3 separate regions of the Homo sapiens genome follow, and all the other regions are linked to region 3. The links are contacts of gene promoters, found by promoter capture Hi-C in human tissues and cell types (Jung and others, 2019). All regions are on one chromosome and are shown on one strand. Each heading gives the region's core, a stretch centred on a gene start or on the middle of the fragment in contact. The rest is flanking DNA. Distances are from core to core; before and after follow the strand shown. Region 1 overlaps VSTM2B-DT (VSTM2B divergent transcript). Region 2 overlaps VSTM2B-DT (VSTM2B divergent transcript). Region 3 holds the start of VSTM2B (V-set and transmembrane domain containing 2B).

Region 1 (2,700 bases), core at 199-2,698, 61 kb after region 3:
CACACTTTGTTCTGTCATCATAATTCCCTGAGTTACTTAATGTTTATCTATATTTAAGTGAACTCTCTGCTCATTCCTCCTTCTTCTACCCCAATGTCTCAATTCCTATGTTTATTTTTACGTATTTCTAATCTGTTAATTGCTTGGATTTAATTGTGAATAGTTCATTTTATTTTCTTGAAAAAGGCTTCTGTGTTCTACATTTCCTGAAGTATTTAACATTTCAGAATGGATGCTTCTTGCCTTTATACATGAATAACTTTGGCTGGGTGTAATATTCTTTGCTGCCTTTTCTTTCCCTCCAAACACAGACATTAATACCTTTTTGTCGGGCTCTGAGTGTTGCTGTAGAGAAGTCAGTGTCTTGCCTGATTTTCCCATTGTGTGTGATTTTTCTCTTTCTGCTTAGATATGTAAAAATTTCTCTCTTAACTTTGAAGTTTAATAACTTAATTGGATGGGCTGTGTCTTTGTGTTGGAATTTCTGTATCAAATGTTGCTAAAACACATTGTGCTATTTTGTTTATTTTGTTTTGTTTTTAGCATGTTCATTTATTTTTTTCAATACAGGGAAAATTTCTTGTATTATATCTTTGAATACATATTTTGTTCTACTTGTTGGATTTTTTTCTTTAGGAACACCAGTTATTCTTAAGATAAACTGTCTGTCTTTTTTTTTTACAGTCAGTGGTTCTCAAATGATTTTAATTTCTTTTTTTTTTTTTTCAAAGTCATAACTCACAAGAGTTACCTTTTATGTATTCCATAAAAATACACTTTTTTTTTTTTTTGCTATCCCTCCCCCCTCCCCCGACCCCACCACAGTCCCCAGAGTGTGATATTCCCCTTCCTGTGTCCATGTGATCTCATTGTTCAATTCCCACCTATGAGTGAGAATATGCGGTGTTTGGTTTTTTGTTCTTGCGATAGTTTACTGAGAATGATGGTTTCCAATTTCATCCATGTCCCTACAAAGGACATGAACTCATCATTTTTTATGGCTGCATAGTATTCCATGGTGTATATGTGCCACATTTTCTTAATCCAGTCTATCATTGTTGGACATTTGGGTTGGTTCCAAGTCTGCTATTGTGAATAATGCCGCAATAAACATACGTGTGCATGTGTCTTTATAGCAGCATGATTTATAGTCATTTGGGTATATACCCAGTAATGGAATGGCTGGGTCAAATGGTATTTCTAGTTCTAGATCCCTGAGGAATCGCCACACTGACTTCCACAATGGTTGAACTAGTTTACAGTCCCACCAACAGTGTAAAAGTGTTCCTATTTCTCCACATCCTCTCCAGCACCTGTTGTTTCCTGACTTTTTAATGATTGCCATTCTAACTGGTGTGAGATGATATCTCATAGTGGTTTTGATTTGCATTTCTCTGATGGCCAGTGATGATGAGCATTTTTTCATGTGTTTTTTGGCTGCATAAATGTCTTCTTTTGAGAAGTGTCTGTTCATGTCCTTCACCCACTTTTTGATGGGGTTGTTTGTTTTTTTCTTGTAAATTTGTTTGAGTTCATTGTAGATTCTGGATATTAGCCCTTTGTCAGATGAGTAGGTTGCGAAAATTTTCTCCCATGTTGTAGGTTGCCTGTTCACTCTGATGGTAGTTTCTTTTGCTGTGCAGAAGCTCTTTAGTTTAATTAGATCCCATTTGTCAATTTTGGCTTTTGTTGCCATTGCTTTTGGTGTTTTGGACATGAAGTCCTTGCCCACGCCTATGTCCTGAATGGTAATGCCTAGGTTTTCTTCTAGGGTTTTTATGGTTTTAGGTCTAACGTTTAAATCTTTAATCCATCTTGAATTGATTTTTGTATAAGGTGTAAGGAAGGGATCCAGTTTCAGCTTTCTACATATGGCTAGCCAGTTTTCCCAGCACCATTTATTAAATAGGGAATCCTTTCCCCATTGCTTGTTTTTCTCAGGTTTGTCAAAGATCAGATAGTTGTAGATATGCGGCATTATTTCTGAGGGCTCTGTTCTGTTCCATTGATCTATATCTCTGTTTTGGTACCAGTACCATGCTGTTTTGGTTACTGTAGCCTTGTAGTATAGTTTGAAGTCAGGTAGTGTGATGCCTCCAGCTTTGTTCTTTTGGCTTAGGATTGACTTGGCGATGCGGGCTCTTTTTTGGTTCCATATGAACTTTAAAGTAGTTTTTTCCAATTCTGTGAAGAAAGTCATTGGTAGCTTGATGGGGATGGCATTGAATCTGTAAATTACCTTGGGCAGTATGGCCATTTTCACGATATTGATTCTTCCTACCCATGAGCATGGAATGTTCTTCCATTTGTTTGTGTCCTCTTTTATTTCCTTGAGCAGTGGTTTGTAGTTCTCCTTGAAGAGGTCCTTCACATCCCTTGTAAGTTGGATTCCTAGGTATTTTATTCTCTTTGAAGCAATTGTGAATGGGAGTTCACTTATGATTTGGCTCTCTGTTTGTCTGTTGTTGGTGTATAAGAATGCTTGTGATTTTTGTACATTGATTTTGTATCCTGAGACTTTGCTGAAGTTGCTTATCAGCTTAAGGAGATTTTGGGCTGAGACAATGGGGTTTTCTAGATAAACAATCATGTCGTCTGCAAACAGGGACAATTTGACTTCCTCTTTTCCTAATTGAATACCCTTTATTTCCTTCTCCTGCCTGATTGCCCTGGCCAGAACTTCCAACACTATGTTGAATA
Region 2 (2,700 bases), core at 199-2,698, 41 kb after region 3:
TTTTTAAATTAAAAAAACCTAAATGGGCTAGGCGCAGTGGCACATGCCTGTAATCCCAGCACTATGGGAAGCCGAGGTGGGTGGATCAGCTGAGGTCAGGGGTTCGAGACCAGCCTGGCCAACATGGTGAAACCCCGTCTCTACTAAAAATACAAAAAATTAGCTGGGCATGGTGGCAGGCGCCTGCAATCCCAGCTACTTGGGAGGCTGAGGCAGGAGAATCACTTGAACTTAGGAGGCAGAGGTTGCAGTAAGCTGAGATTACACCATTGCACTCCAGCCTGGGCAACAACATAGAAACTCCGTCTCAGAAAAAAAACAAAAACAAAAAACCAAAACACACACACACGCAAACACACACACACACAAAACCCTAAATGATTAGGTTTTTAACATTAAACATTAATTATTCTCATCTAGTTTTATTATATTGTGATGAAAGAATGTGGCCCATATCATTTTATATGATTTTGGAACTTATAGAGGGTATTTTTTGTGGTCAAAAGTATTTATTTTGGTCATGAATGCTGAAAAAGTAGATGCATTTTCTGTAGCAAATCAAATTTATTAACTTATAGTCAGATTTCCTATATTTTTTGTTCATCTTGGTTTTTGCTAACTTATCCTGTCCATGGCAGACCAGGTGGGCTGAGTGGGGGCTCTGTGTCCCAGGGGCCACGGTGGTGGACTGGTGACAATGTGGACCTGTCCATCCATCCTCTCTTCCTTGCAGTCCTGCATGGGGAAAAGAGCTCGGGAGTGAGGTAATGTGGATTTGAATCCTGGCTTCAGCCACCCCTCACCATTGTGGCCGGGCCATCTGTGAAGTGGGAATGGGAGCATGAACCGGGCAGGGATGGAGGGAGAATGAAGTAGGACAAGGATAGGGAAGTCTGCCCCCTCCCCTTGCAGCCCCGCTCTCATCCCAGTAGCTCCTATCCGCCCCATACCATGCATCCCTGAAAGCTGCCCCTGCATCCGGGTTGATAAAAGACAGACAGCCCTGGAGGTGGAGTAATGCAGACCTCCTCCTCAGGTGGGCTGGGGGCTGTTGCAGACCTCTGAGTTTTCAGGCATAGTTGGGAGGTTTTGGGGACTTTTCCAGGATCCCCTTTCAAATCCTACCAGGCTGGAGGCTTTCTGTTAGCCTCTGACTTAGGACAGTCTTACCAGGCCAAGACCTGCTCCTGGGATACGTGCCTCACAGTTAGGAGTCCCTGCAGGACTTCCAGGCGGTCAGCACCACACCAATGGGGATCCCGTAGATATGGGAAGCAGCTGCAGTTGTAACAGGACCCAGTTCGGCTGTGTACTGCTTAAACATCAAACACAAGGGGTGAGAGTTGGTGGGAGGAAAAGCAGGTTTATTCAGACCAGCCAGCAAACCACAAAGATGGCGGACTAGCGTCCTAAAGTACCATCTTTAGTTAGGACACATTTCAGGTTCTTTTTAAGTTAAGGGCAGGGAAAAGAAAAGGGGGCTGGGATTAAGAGGTGGTAGAGGACTTCAGACGTTTGGGCACCAGCGAGGTTCCGAGGAGGTTGGGAACACATTTGTCCTCGGTCAGGTGGCAATACTCCTGTAATCTTTAACAAAACATAGTTGGTTGTTGACAGACTTCCCTTTAGCCTCAGTGTTAGCTTAAAAAAAACGACATGATTGCTGTTTTTGCGTAATTTAACTCAGTGCTCTAAAATTATCTTAGCCTGTGGGCAGCAATGGGTCAAGGCCCCTTAAACAAAAATGGAGTGAGTGACGTTAGTTCTTTTGCTGTTTCACTGTTAGTCATCTAGTGGTCTGGGGGAGACAGGAACCTGGGTCCCCAGTGCCATGGCCCATGGGCTCAGCCCATCCTGCTGTTCCAGCCCAGTGCCTTCCCTGAGCTCCCAGGCCCCAGGGAGGGTAGGAATGGGAGCTCACTGGGTGCAGATCCAGGAGAGGCCGGCTGGCTCCTCACTGTCCCTGAAGCAGGAAGCTCCAGGTAAATCAGAGTCAGCTGGCAGCCCCTGGTGAGGTCAGAGGTGCAGCTGACATGCGCATGCTGCAAAGGCCGAGATTTAGGCCGAGGAAGAGGCCAGGAGCTCCAGAACCCCTGCCAGGCTCACTCTCTGCCTCTGCTGCCTATAGCCTGAGACTGCTAGAGGGGATCCCATGCCCTGCCAGGCCTCACAGGAGTCCTCCCCACACCTCCTCTCTGCAGAGCCTTTCTACGGCCCAGAGTCAGAAGGCCTGATGTGGTGTCTGCTCTGTTGTGAGACTCTGGCCTCAGCTTCATCATCTGCAAAATGGGGCTGGACAGACCTCTTCTTCCTCAGGATCAAACATGATGGAGGCTGAGGGACTTTGGAAAGGGTTGGGGGGACATCGAGGGGCTCTGAGTAATGGCAGAGAAAGCACCTTAGGGTTTCTGGGCCCGGCTGCCTGCACCCATCACTCAAGCATCCATCCTGACCCCTGGAGACTCCAGCTGTTTTAAAGGAATATGTCTCCATCCTAGGTCACCTTTGTCACTGCTGGGGGCAGCCTGACACAGCATTTCAAAGAATCAGCTGAGGTCAGATAGACCTGGCTGCGTGACCTCAAATGAGTTCCGTAAGCTCTCTCGGCCGCGGTTTCCTTACCTGGGAAATGGGCCCTCCTTCAGAGGGTTGATATGGGCAGGAAATGACAGTGTGCAAGGAGTGCTCAGGATGGCACAG
Region 3 (2,700 bases), core at 157-2,656:
TTACCTTGCTCCGGGCGCCCGGCACGCTGAGCGCCAGCTCGTGCAGCAGCTCCCGGGGTGGCTCCTTGAGGTACCACCACTGAATCTCCAGCGAATACGAGGTGGCTCCGCTGGCCCGGAACGCGCAGGGCATTTCGATGTCGTCTCCCTCCCGTACTGTCACATCTTTGGGGACTTCTGTGAATGCAGCTGGGGGTGGGGAGAGAGAGAGAGGCGTGACCAGCTGTAGGTCGGGGGCCTGGGGCAACCTAAAGCGAGGCAGTCGGTCTCTGGCTGGCTGGCCTTGTGCCCCCCACCCCGCAGCTGCTCCCTGGCGCACGGCCGGAGGGGCTAGCAAAGTTCGGGGAAGCGGCTGCAGGGCCGAGGCAGGGACCGGCCATCGGCTGCCTACTGCTTCCCTCCGGATGGGGCGGGGCGGCAGGGGCGACTCGTGCTTCTCCCCCGCCCCTGGCCGCACCGCCAGAGCCTGGCTGGGGCGCGCCTACTCCCGCTCCCCGCAGGCATCCTTTCCGCAGCCGGGGCCCCGGCGGGACTGGGAACGACTCGGGCGCGGCGCTGCTGCTGCGGCGACCCTTCGCCGCTCGCCTCTCCCTACCCCTCCGGGCCCAGGCTGCACAGCGGGATTGCTGGAGACCGCGAAGCTTCCCGGTTCGTTCTCTTTCTTCTTCTTCTCGGTGGCGGCCCCAGCAAAGACCCCCCCGAGTCCACAGCGGCAGCAAAGTTCCCGCGCTCACCGTCGGCCACGAAGAGCAGCAGGGCATGCAGCAGCAGAGGCGGCAGGTATCCGAGGGCACCGAGCCGGTTCCGCTGTTCCATCTCCCGCGGGGGGCGCGGTGGCGGCGGGGGCCCGGGAGCGGAGAGGCGGCGGCCGCGTGGGCTCGGATCGGCTCCGGCTCGGGCTAGGACGCCTCCGAGCCTGCCATGGCCCCGCGCGGCGCCCCCTCCCCTGGCCGCCGGCGGCCGCCAATCAGCCCCGCTCCCTCGCCGGCTTGCCCGGTGCGGCTCCGGCGGGGGGCGCTGCGCGGGGTGTGCAGGAGACGCGGTCCCACCGGGAGGCTGCTGGCGATCGGTCAGTGCCTCTCTCTGTCCGGTCGTCCACAGGACGGTGGGGATCCGCGGTTCAGTCTCTGCCCGGCGGGCCGGGCAGGGGCTGGGCCGCGCCGGGACCCATCCCTGGCCGAGGGAGTGCGTGCCACGGAGCCGCGAGCTTCTGCCTCCCTGTCTCCTTCTGGTTCTGCTCCCGATTGCCACCTCCTTCGGCTCCCGCAGCCGCCCCCGCCGGTTCCTCCGCGGCTCTTTCCGCAGGGCGAGTGGGCGCTCAGCCGCGGCGCGCAGACCTGGCGTCCGACCCAGCGCAGCGCGGGGAGAGCGGGTCCGGCGTGGCGGACCCGGAGCCGGAGAGAGGCGGGGAGAGGGGGAGGGGAGGGGAAGGGAGGGGGCGGTCAGTGGCTGGGCGCCAAGCCGCCTCCACCGCTGCATCGCCCCCGCCCTCCCCTCTCCTGCCACAGCCCGCCCCGCCCCCGCCCCAGAGCGCTCCCCCTCTCTCCTCGGGGGTCGCTCGGAGGGACCACCGTCTTTCTGGTTGGAGTACAGCCCCGCCCCGCACCCGCTTGGGTTGGGAGTCCTCCCACCCAAACTCTCCCTGGCTTCTTCCCAGTCTGCACGGCTCGAGACGGCCGCTCATCCCTGCTCCCCGTGTGTCCCTCGGTCCTCTCTGCAGCTCCCAGCCCTCAACTCCTTACCCCAGTTTGGGCAACCAGCTGCCCCGCTGTTTGGCCCAGGCCTGGGCCATGACGGATGGGTGGGCGCCCGGGGCCGCGAGAAGGGCGGAACGCTGTGCCCAGCCGGAGACTACGCTGGGTGGCGGCGGCAGCGCCGGGAGTCTGCAGTGCGCGAGGGAGAAGTGAGCGCACAGCGCCCAGCGAGCAGGTGCCTGCGGCGCGGAGAGCGCACACGCTAGCCAGCCCGCAGCGGCCGTGAGTGACGGCAGGGGCGGCGGGGGTGGGGTGGGGTGGGGAGCGCCGGGCACGACTCAGGGCCCGGGAGGTTTCCGGGAGGGGGCGGGGTTCCTGCCCCTGGATCGCGGGTCCCTGTGTCTCCACGCGCTCTTCGCCGGTCGTGGCCCCTTCTTTGCCCGGTGCAAAGCGAGATGCCGAGGCGGCAGGAAGCCGGAACCCATCCCCCGCCTGCTCTGGCGTACTCGGCATCCCGGTACCTCCCCCAGCCTTCACCCGGAGTCTGCTCCCTCCCCAGCCATCTGAGGGAGCGCGGTCTGGTCCCCGAAGGCAAATGCGGGGTGGACATGTGGTTCGGACGCAGCGCGTAGTCATAGTCATAGGGGCGAGTCCTAAGGCTCGCCTTGGGTCTCTCCTATCTCCTTCCCCCGGGAGTCCCCAGCTAGTGCGTTTCGGCACCTCTGCCCCTACCCCGGCCCCTACGCCTCAGCTCTGACCTCAGGTTGGGGTGGGGCAGCCCGGTGGATTCACGTGCCTGCTTCCCCGGCTACCAGCCTCCCGGAGGCACCGCCAGAGGATTCCCTGGGAGCCAAGGAGAAGGAAACCCAGAGGGAAAACACTCTCCAGCAGCCACCCTGGTCCAGGCGGCCAGCGCAGCACAGCTCAGAGGGGAGGAGCTGCAGGCCCTCTCCAAGGCTGTCCTCGCCAGCGGGTGCCCGGGGCCAGCCCTTCTTGCCTCCAGTGC

The links. The method cuts DNA at HindIII sites, captures the fragments that hold promoters and counts their contacts. A contact is called where the count stands out against the background at its distance.
Region 1: a contact is called between a fragment that was not itself captured here and the fragment with the promoter of VSTM2B in region 3, in 2 of the 25 tissues and cell types used here (dorsolateral prefrontal cortex and hippocampus).
Region 2: a fragment that was not itself captured here is called in contact with the fragment with the promoter of VSTM2B in region 3 in 1 of the 25 tissues and cell types used here (hippocampus).

The regions. Positions count from the first base shown.
Region 1 is chr19:29,463,279-29,465,978 of GRCh38, reverse strand. The region is part of intron 1 of VSTM2B-DT (VSTM2B divergent transcript); the gene reads left to right. Among named protein-coding and RNA genes, the nearest start is that of VSTM2B-DT, 61 kb to the left of the region's middle. The HindIII fragment of the contact is 5,057 bases long and covers 1-2,700 here.
Region 2 is chr19:29,483,651-29,486,350 of GRCh38, reverse strand. The region is part of intron 1 of VSTM2B-DT (VSTM2B divergent transcript); the gene reads left to right. Among named protein-coding and RNA genes, the nearest start is that of VSTM2B-DT, 41 kb to the left of the region's middle. The HindIII fragment of the contact is 4,384 bases long and covers 1-2,700 here.
Region 3 is chr19:29,524,700-29,527,399 of GRCh38, reverse strand. It overlaps VSTM2B (V-set and transmembrane domain containing 2B), which reads right to left and starts at 1,406. Exons shown (of 5, transcript NM_001146339.2): 1 at 735-1,406; 2 at 5-189. The coding sequence starts at 816. It overlaps VSTM2B-DT (VSTM2B divergent transcript), which reads left to right and starts at 1,650. Exons shown (of 10, transcript NR_040029.2): 1 at 1,650-1,976. All of the region lies in intron 1 of LOC124904683 (a long non-coding RNA gene), which reads left to right. The HindIII fragment of the contact is 17,468 bases long and covers 1-2,700 here.